Regions from separate parts of the Homo sapiens genome. Here regions 2 and 3 are each linked to region 1. The links are contacts of gene promoters, found by promoter capture Hi-C in blood cells and fetal thymus (Javierre and others, 2016). All regions are on one chromosome and are shown on one strand. The core of a region is centred on a gene start or on the middle of the fragment in contact, and the rest is flanking DNA. Distances in the headings are between cores, read along the strand shown.

Region 1 (3,263 bases), core at 1-2,500:
GTGAGAATAGCACCACACCCCTCACAGGTTGCTGTGAGAATTCTGCCCCAGGTCAGTGCTTTGCACACAGTGCATGCTCAACTCATGCTTCCTTTTCCCACATGCTGGGGCCTCCCAGTTCCCCCAATGGAACCCAGAGCTGTGACAGTCAAGGGCCCAGAATCCAGGACATCTGTCCCACCAGAATCCAGGATATCCGTCCCAAGTCCCAGCCAGCAGCCACTAGAGCTGAGGCTCTGTGTGAAGCAGCACCCTCTCTAAGCATCCCTCTGTCCCTTGCAAACTAAACAGAATGATCCAACTTCATTATTTGGTGGATGAGCCCAGGATTTCTTAGCACAAGAGAGACCCCTTTCTGCCCTGGCAGTGGGAAGCTGTTTCTCTACCCTCTGGGAGGTGCAGAGTTGGGTGACCTTGGGATGGGTCTCCAGGGCAATGTCTTCATGTGTGCCTACACCTCCCACCCCTCTCACAGGCAGTGGTGAGTTTTGCCAACCCCCACCATGCCCAGAACTGAACAGGAAGTGGTAACTTGGTTGCCATGGCAGCGAGAGGGGCAGGAATGGGTGAGGTTCCTCAAGGAGCATTGGTATCTGTGAGGTGGGAAAGGCATTCACACACTGGTCCCTTCAGGACAGAGGCAGGGACAGGATGTGGCATCAGCATTTCAAGAAAAATGTTCAAATTCAGTTCAAAACACACATGATGCAATGATTGCTGTCATAACTAAGCAGGGCTTCCTGACAGAGGCCAAGCAGAGAAAGCTATTTGTGTGAGGAAATTGAGGGCTCTGCTTTAAAGCCTGAGGAAGCCTAGCAGATAAAGGAGCCAATGCAGAGAGGGTCCAGAGCTTTATCTTGGCTTGGGAGGCCTGGGTTAGCTTCGCCTGGGGCCTGATATTAGGGTAAAGAGCTAAGTCAGCCCTAATCTCCTCCTTCCCCAACCCACAAAACACTAAACAAGAAAACTGCTGGTAAGGAGGGTAAGAAAAAGGCCCTGAGCTCCTGCCTCTGTACCCACTCCCTCCTCCACAAGTCAGCCCCTTCTCCCCTCACCTGAGACGCAACCCTGTGGCCACAGCAGCAGCAGCAGCAGGAAGGCTGGGGCCATGGTTCCATCCAGCTGGGCAGTGTCAGGCCTGGAGATCCAAGGTGAGGGCCCACCCGACACAGGATGTGCCACCTGGGCCTGCCAGGGAAGGACCCGGGGTTCTAAAAGTGAAGCTGCCCATTTAGGGAAGTGAGGCAGTGTGGGACCCACTGCCCCCAGCCAACCGCAGGGATTCATTGAGCCTATTATGAGGGCGGTGCTGGCAGCTGTTTCCGCCCTTTTCCTCGGAACTTCAGGCAGGTGTGGCTGCTCCACCCAGTCTGGGGCCCCAAGCCGGGAGGACTCACAGTCAGAGGGCTCCCCGCCCTCCCCAACCTCCCCCAGAAACTGGTCCCTAGGATCCAGCAAGGGGGCTGGGGTGAGGCTTCTGGAACGTCAGGTATAGACCTTCCTGGAATCTTCTGGGCTCAGAGACCCAGGGGTGCGGGCTCTTAGGCTGAGATGGAGCATCTCAGACCCTAGTTTCTTACATATATACATTCACAGGGAAGTTCTTATAAACTCTCATTCATTCATTCATTGCAGATTCTTTCTGTTCCTTCCTCTCTCTCTCTCCCAGGCTCCTGGCTGCTCAGAACAGTCACTTGTGTTCACTGTTGCAAATAACCTCTTACAGGCTCACTTGAAATCTTACTTTTGTCAAGCGGGAAAAATGCAAATTGTTAAGACTCAGGGCATAAATTTTGGGTTGAGGGAGGGGTTCCTGTACTCTCACACACAGGTGTGCATGCACATGCACTCACACTCACAGTCTCACTTTGTCTTTTATTCACTTTCACACACACACACACACGCCCATGCACACAGTCTCACACACACCCCAGCAGCCTCTCCTTTTCCCTATCCATACGTCTCCTCTCTCTGTCCCTCTCCCTGCCTCTCCTCCTGTCGACTCTACTCACCATCAGCTCCCTCTAGACTCCTAGTCCCTCGTGCAGGCTTCCTACAGCCTCCGCAGTACTTCCCCTCACCCACCTCATCTCAAGACCCCCTTCCTCCCCTGCCTCCAGCCTACGTCAGCACGCAGGCAAGTGCCCTCCACTTCCTCCTGCTCAATGCTATCTCGCCTGTACAGCCACCAGCTCCAGTGGAAATGACCCAGCACTAGGCCCAAGACCACACCCTTCACTTACCCCAAGGCCTAGAATCAGAAGCATCAATTTTTGATGTCCGGTACCTGTGTCATCTGCTCCTTCAGTGTGTGGGGACCCAGCTGGACTCCCGTGATTATGTATGCTCCCCCTACTCACTAGTGCCATGTTTCTACTCCTTAGATGGGACTGTCAAAAGGTAAACTGAGGCACAATAAAATTTTAAACAGATTATTTCAGCAAACAACAATTCATGAATCAGGCAGCTCCAAACAGAAGAGGTTGAGGAGCTCCACTGGGGGAATGCAAGGGGAAGACTCCTACAGGACAAGTAAACTGAAGAAAATATTTAATTAGTTATAGTTATATAGTTCCCTTATTTGGCCTATCCTGTTGGAAAGACCCTAGTTAATTATATAAGTTTCTTTTGATTGGTTGAGCTTAAGTTCTATTTTTCCTTAATATACACATTTACAAGAAATAGCTCGTGTTAAGTTTCACTGATATTTGCAAATCAAGCAAAGTTGAGGTCACTTATGAGGCCTAACTGTTTTTTTAATTTTTGCTCAGGGACTCTTCAGGCCTGGTCTCCATTTTCATTAATTTTAACAGGACTCAGAGCAAAAAGTCCTCAAGCTTGCATGGCCACAATCTTAAATTGACCTTGAAGCCCCAAGCTCCAAGCAAAGAAGTCTATCTCGGCTGACCCTAAGCTTTTGTAGTCTCTCAACTCATTCACTCACTCATTAATTCATTCATTCATTTGTTCATTCCCACAACCTCATTGCTATGCATGGGGCTAGGTAGGCACTGGGGGCGTAGGAATGAGACACGATTGTCACTTGAGACCTCTCAGCTCACAGACGTGTTTTGTTTTCCTTATTCACCCTTCCTTTTTCAATGTTTCTCACCCAGTCCTCAGAACTTCCTGAGCTCCCTGAGTTCAGGGGCCATCTCCCCTCCCCAGCACACACAGTAAGTTCCTCCATCCCTTCCCCCATCAGAACAGTAAGTTGCTTCAGGAGTGGGGGATTTATCTCTTGTGGGGACTTTATGCGCTTG
Region 2 (3,263 bases), core at 425-2,924, 120 kb before region 1:
TTTCTGGATTCTATTTGGTCTTTTTCTCTTCTTGTTTGAGCTAACTTGTGATTTAGTAAGTCTTTGGCCACAACAGACAAACCAACATAGCTTCCAATAAATCTTCTGTTTTTTGATTTGGTCTGCCACATTTTTTATTCAGAAAAGCTCTGGTTTAACATTAGGATAATATTTAGACAGCCATTCTTATGGATAAGACATACTAGAAAGGAATTCCCTGCTGCTGGTTTATTCCTAATTAATAGATTGCTTTCTTGAATTTATACACAGGTTACATTTTCTGATGCTTTATGCTTGGGTTTATTATAGTAAAATTTCACTTTTTTCCCCACCCCAGAAGAAAAAAATGTATTATGTTTCTATTTGACCTTAGGCCAAGATTGATATTTTGGAAATACTTTGTTTTCAAAATGGAATTTAGCTAATATAGAAAAGTAGTAGGGAAGGGAAAGGTAGTATTGATGATGAGTTTTTCCCGTCTAATGATCAAAGACGAACTCCCCTGATAGCTTTCCCTTCCATACAGCTGCTGTGGCTCTGGCAGTTTCCTTCAACTGCCTTTTTAGAGGAAGGGATTCCACAAAGGGCCCTCCATTCACACCAGTGCCCTGGAGGGTGGGTTTTTATTCTTTCAGAATTTGCCATTAGTGGATGTAAAAATAAGGTTGAATCATTGAAAACATGGCTCTTAAAGCAGTCCAGTTGGGTAGAAATAATCTTAGTTTTGAAGCTGGGCATGGTGCTGCATGCCTGTAATCCCAGCTACTCTGGAGGCTGAGACAGGAAGGTTGGCTTAAGCCCAGGAATTCAAGACCAGCCTGGGCAAAACAGCAAGACCCCATCTCAAAATAAGTACATAAATAAAGTTTAAAAAAAAAAGAATCTTAGTTTTGGGACATGAGAGCATTGACGTCATGAAGATGATTTCGGTTCATAGTGATTAATTACTCCTCCTTTCTTGGTGATTGCATTTAAGCCCAGAATTTTTTATGGTAGTTTCAGGGCTATTAAAACCTAATCATTTTTTTCTTGTGAACTCATCTGAGGAGATAAAAAGGGCATTAAACAATTGTGTAAGTAGAAGTGTCAGATTCCTGTTTCTGGAGGGAAAGATTGCATTACAAATCTTTGTGTTAATGATGACAACTGTTTTGAGTTTTTGAGTCAAATTTTTGAGGTCCACTCTGGAGACAAAGGGCTAATATCTTTAATCCTACTACCTTCAACAAAACAGCTTCAATATAGGGAGTCTGTACATTTTGAAAGTCCTTCAGGCTTCCGTCTCTCTCCTCCAAGAGGTAAGGTGATCTGTGTCTTGAACTACACATTTCCTTCCTGACATATTTCAAGCTCTTCCTGTTCCTGTTCTCAGCAGCAGGGTGGTGTCACTGCTGTGCAGTTGCAGACTGAGGCCCAGGTGGCATCCGCCTCAGGCCAGCAAGTCCAGACCCTCCAGGTAGTGGTACCCTCTCTGATTCTCTGTGAGCACTGCATGAACTTCTCCTCTCCTCATGTCTGGTGCTGTTTGTGTTAGGATCTCCAGTAGGAATGGCAAAGTCAGTTGCATGTCTTTGATGCTGCTAACTTGTCTTTGAGGCTTATAAGATGCCAGTTTCCTAATATTTCATGCCAAGTCATATAGAGACCCCGTATCAACTTTCTGAGAATTGGATTTGACTAGCATGTTTCTTTGAGAATGCCTGGAAAAGAAATGGTATAAGTGACAGGAAGAAATTCTTATAAGTGACATTAGAATTTATTCAGGGCTCGGCCGGGCGCGGTGGCTCACGCCTGTAATCCCAGCACTTTGGGAGGCCGAGGCAGGCGGATCACGAGGTCAGGAGATCGAGACCATCCTGGCAAACATGGTGAAACCCTGTCTCTACTAAAAATACAAAAAAATTAGCCGGGCATGGTGGCGGGCACCTGTAGTCCCAGCTACTTGGGAGGCTGGAGCAGGAGAATGGCGTGAACCCAGGAGGCAGAGCTTGCAGTGAGCAGAGATTGCGCCACTGCACTCCAGCCTGGGTGACAGAGCGAGACTCCGTCTCAAAAAAAAAAAAAAGAATTTATTCAGGGCTCACACTCTGATCCAATTAATTGCATGGTAAAAATTTTGTGTATTTGTGTTACAATGGAGAAGGAAATATATACATATACAGACACACATAAACTAGGCTAGGCTGTGCTTTATTTTTATTCAAGGGGCAACTCAACTGAAAAATAATCATTGCACTTGGCAAGGTTTATCTAAGCACTGAATCTTGTTAATCTCTTGTTAACTGCTATTGTTTCCACTACCTTTCCTGGGGGAATAGTGACCTGTCTTATTACTAGATCTGCAAAGATTACCCCAGATACCTCTTGGTTAGGCAGAAGCAGGATGTGCTTTCTGTAAGTCTTAGGTGTTAAAGCCACTGTGATAATTCTTGGTTAATCAATACAGTTCTTTAGCATCGTGTATGGCTAAGTATCCTAAATTGGGTTCTAATTTGGCCAGTTCCTATAAAACACAGGAGTAGCAGCACTAGTCTACTCTGTGTATGTAGGTTACTTTTATTAAAATAACTCTATTTTTGAGAAATTGGCAAGATTTGGGTACCCTACTTTTTCCCTCCATTGAATTAGAAATGATTCAAAGTAGAATCTAGAATGTAGAACTGGCATCTCACTTTATTGCTAGTGCTGCTAAGCATCCAGCAGATAACTACCTCTTATTGTCATCACTTTATCCTTTCAATCCCACCCCTACCCCTGCCACCAATAGTGTTTGGTAATGATGTACAGCCAACTTTGAACATAAATTAAGCCGAAAGAAACTGAGCTTGTAGGCATTCCAAAATTGTGTTCAAATCTCACAGTCCAACAGCTTGTTAATGTTTTTCATGCTTGCTTCATCTTACTCATATATAAAACAGTATTTTGGATTGTCATTAACCCCTTGTGGAATAGGAATGTAACATGCTCTTAACTGTATGGCTTCTTGTTTGATGCATGTGTCTTTGTAACATTTTTCTGTTGTAAATACAGTGAGCTCTTTGGAGTCTCAAATCATTTATCATGTGCACGAATAGCACATCAATTGGGGAGGAAATTAAGATGATGAATAGATAGAAAATTATTAATAGCTGTATCTTAAAACTTGTGTTTCCTACTTACATAGATTTTATTTAAAAGAAGTGGAAACACTTTATGGAAATAATAGAAACCTTTCCTCTAGGGATCTGATTATTTTGGGAGAATTTTAAATAGTTATTTTGGTT
Region 3 (3,263 bases), core at 250-2,749, 96 kb after region 1:
ACATAGTCATCAGATTCTCTAAGGTTGAAATGAAAGAAAAAAGTATTAAAGGCAGCTAGAGAGAAGGGGCAGGTCACCTACAAAGAGAACCAGCTAGCAGCAGACTTTCAGCAGAAATCCTACAAGCCAGAAGAGACTGGGGGCCTATATTTAGCTTTCTTTTTTGTTTTGTTTTGTTTTGTTTGTTTTTAATCTCAATAGCTTAGGGGTACAAGTGGTTTTTGGCTACATGATGAATGAATGAATTGTACAGTGGATGAATTGTATAGCGGTGAAGCCTGGGCTTTTAGTGTATTCATCACCTAAATAGTGTGTATTGTACCAGTAGGTAATTGTTCATCCTGAACCCCTTTTCCACTCTTTTCCATTCTGAGTCCACAACGTTCATTATACCATTCTGTATGCCTTTGTGTACCCATAGCTTAGCTCCCACTTACAAATGAGAACATTCTGTATTTGGTTTTCTGTTCAAGTTTTTACTTCACTTAGGATAATAGACTCTAGTTCCTTCAAAGTTACTGCAAAAGACAGTATTTCATTCTTTTTCATGAATGCATAGTATTCTGTGGTGTGTGGATGGATAGATAGATAGATAGATAGATAGATAGATAGATAGATACCATATATTTGTATCCACTTATCAGTTAGTTGGCAGTTAGGATGATTCCATATAATTGCAATTGTGAATTATGCTGCATACATTTAGCATTCTTAAAGAAAAGAGATGCCAACCAAGAGTTTCATATCCAGCCGAACTAAGCTTCATAAGTGAAGGAGAAATAAGATCCATGTCAGACAAACAATTGCTAAGGCAATTCATTACTACTAGACTTGTCTTACAAGAGGTCCTGAAGGAAGTATTAAATTTGTTAAAGAAAGACCATTACCAGCTGATATAATCTGGATATTTGTCCCCACCCAAATGTCATGTTGAAATGTAATCTCCAATCTTGGTGGTAGGGCCTGGAGGGAGGTGTTTGGATCAAGTGGGTGGATCCCAAATGAATGGCTTGGGCCATGACTTGGTGACAAGTGAGCTCTCACTCTGAGTTCACACAAGATCTGGTCATTTAAAAGTGTGTAGCACCTCCCCCAGTATCAGGGGAACCAGCCCCCAATATTTCAACGTAGATTCATTTCTATTTTCCCTAAGTGTTGGCCAGTCTGAGAAATAAAGAGAAAGAGTGCAAAGAGAGAAATTTTAGAGCTGGGCCTCCAGGGGTGTCATCACATATTGTTAGGACCATGATGATGACCCCAAGCCACAAAACCAGCAAGTTTTTATTAGGGATTTTAAAAGGGGAGGGGGTATATGAACAGGGAGTAGGTCACAAGGATCACATGGTTCAAAGGGCTATAAAGATCACAAGGCGAAGGCAAAATTAGAATTACTGATGCGGGTCTATGTCCCGCTGTGCACGCATTGTCTTGATAAACATCTTAACAGGAAACAGGGTTTGAGAGCAGAGAACCAGTCTGACTAGAATTTACCAGGCTGGAATTTCCCAATCCTAGTAAGCCTGAGGGTACTGCAGGAGACCAGGGTGTATTTCAGTCCTTATCTTAACCACATAAGACAGACACTCTCACAGCGGCCATCTATAGACCTCCCCCCAAGAATGCATTCCTTCCTCAGGGTATCAATTATTAATATTCCTTGCTGGGAAAAGAATTCAGCGATATTTCCCCTACTCGCATGTCTGTTTATAGGCTCCCTTCAAGAAGAAAAATATGGCTCTATTCTGCCCAACCCCACAGGCAGTCAGACCTTATGGTTATCTTCCCTTGTTCCCTGAAAATCACCATTATTCTGTTCTTTTTCAGGGTGCACTGATTTCATATTGTTCAAACACACATGTTCTACAATCAATTTGTACAATAGTGGTCCTGAGGTGACGTACATTCTCAGCTTACAAAGATAACAGGATTAAGAGATTAAAGTAAAGACAGGCATAAGAAATTATAAGAGTATTATTAGGGAAGTGATAAATGTCCATGAAATCTTCACAATTTATGTTCAGAGATTGCAGTAAAGACAGGCATAAGAAATTATAAAAGTATTAATTTTGGGAACTGATAAATGTCCATTAAATCTTCACATTTTATGTTCTTCTGCCTCGGCTCTAGCTGGTCCCTCTGTTCAGGGTCCCCGACTTCCCATAACACCCCACCATTCTCTCTTGCTTCTGCTTTCACCATGTGACATCCCTGTACCCCCTTTACCTTCTGCCATGATTGTAAGCTTCCTGAGACCTCCCCAGAATCAGATGTTAGCCCCATGCTTCCTGTGTAGCCTGCAGAAACATTAGCCAATTAAACCTCTTTTCTTTATAAATTATCCAGTCTCAGGTATTTCTTTATAGCAATGCAAGAATGACCTAATACATTGGCCACTACAAAAATGCACTTAAGTACATAGACCATTGACACTATTGAGCAGCCACACAAACAAATCTGCATAATAACCAGCTAACAATGTGATAACAAGATCAAATCCACACATATCAATATTAACTTTGAATGTAAAAGGGCTAAATATCCCAATTAAAAGTCACAGAGTGGCAAATTGGATAAAGAAGCAACACTCAATGGTATGCTATCTTCAAGAGACTTATCTCACACACAATGAGACCTATCAGCTCAAAGTAAAAAGATGGAGAAAAGGTACCAAGCAAACAGAAAACAGAAAAAGCAGAGGTTGCTATCTAATTTCAGACAAAACAGAACTTAAGCCAACAAAGATCAAAAAAGACAAAGAACATTACATAATGGTAAAAAGTTCAATTCAACAAGAAGACCTAACTATCCTAAATATATATGCATCCAGCACAGGAGCACTCAGATTCAAAAAGCAAATTCTTAGAGACTTACAAAGAAACTGAACTCGACACTTGACCAAATGAACCTAATAGACATTGACAGAACTCTCCACCCCAAAACAACAGTGTGTACATTCTTCCTACCTGTACATGGCACATATTTGAAGTCAACCACACAATCGACCAAAAAACAATCCTCAACAAATTCAAAGAAACCAAAATCACACCAACCACACTCTTGGACCACAGCACAAAAAAAATAGAAATCAATACTAAGAAAATTGCTCAAAACCATACATTTGCATGGAAATTAAATAACCTGTCCCCAGATAACTTTTGGATAAGCAACAAAATTAAGGTAGAAATCAAGAAGTTCTTTGAATCAATGAGAACAATGATACAACATACCAGAATCTCTGAGACATAGCTAAAGCAATGTTAAGA

The links. Contacts are between HindIII fragments. The CHiCAGO score rates a contact against its expected background, and 5 or more counts as called.
Region 2: a contact is called between a fragment that was not itself captured here and the fragment with the promoter of TREML2 in region 1, in 1 of 17 cell types (neutrophils). The highest score is 9.8, in neutrophils.
Region 3: a fragment that was not itself captured here is called in contact with the fragment with the promoter of TREML2 in region 1 in 1 of 17 cell types (neutrophils); the score reaches 6.2 in neutrophils.

Annotation. Positions count from the first base shown.
Region 1 is chr6:41,199,899-41,203,161 of GRCh38, forward strand. It overlaps TREML2 (triggering receptor expressed on myeloid cells like 2), which reads right to left and starts at 1,251. Exons shown (of 5, transcript NM_024807.4): 1 at 1,056-1,251. The coding sequence starts at 1,110. RefSeq lists an enhancer at 1,470-1,539. The HindIII fragment of the contact is 14,567 bases long and covers 1-2,835 here.
Region 2 is chr6:41,079,439-41,082,701 of GRCh38, forward strand. NFYA (nuclear transcription factor Y subunit alpha) reads left to right here. Exons shown (of 10, transcript NM_002505.5): 3 at 1,373-1,459. It also overlaps a transcript of OARD1 not described here. Among named protein-coding and RNA genes, the nearest start is that of NFYA, 8.1 kb to the left of the region's middle. The HindIII fragment of the contact is 4,870 bases long and covers 1-3,263 here.
Region 3 is chr6:41,295,984-41,299,246 of GRCh38, forward strand. No RefSeq gene overlaps it. Among named protein-coding and RNA genes, the nearest start is that of TREM1, 11 kb to the left of the region's middle. The HindIII fragment of the contact is 1,482 bases long and covers 759-2,240 here.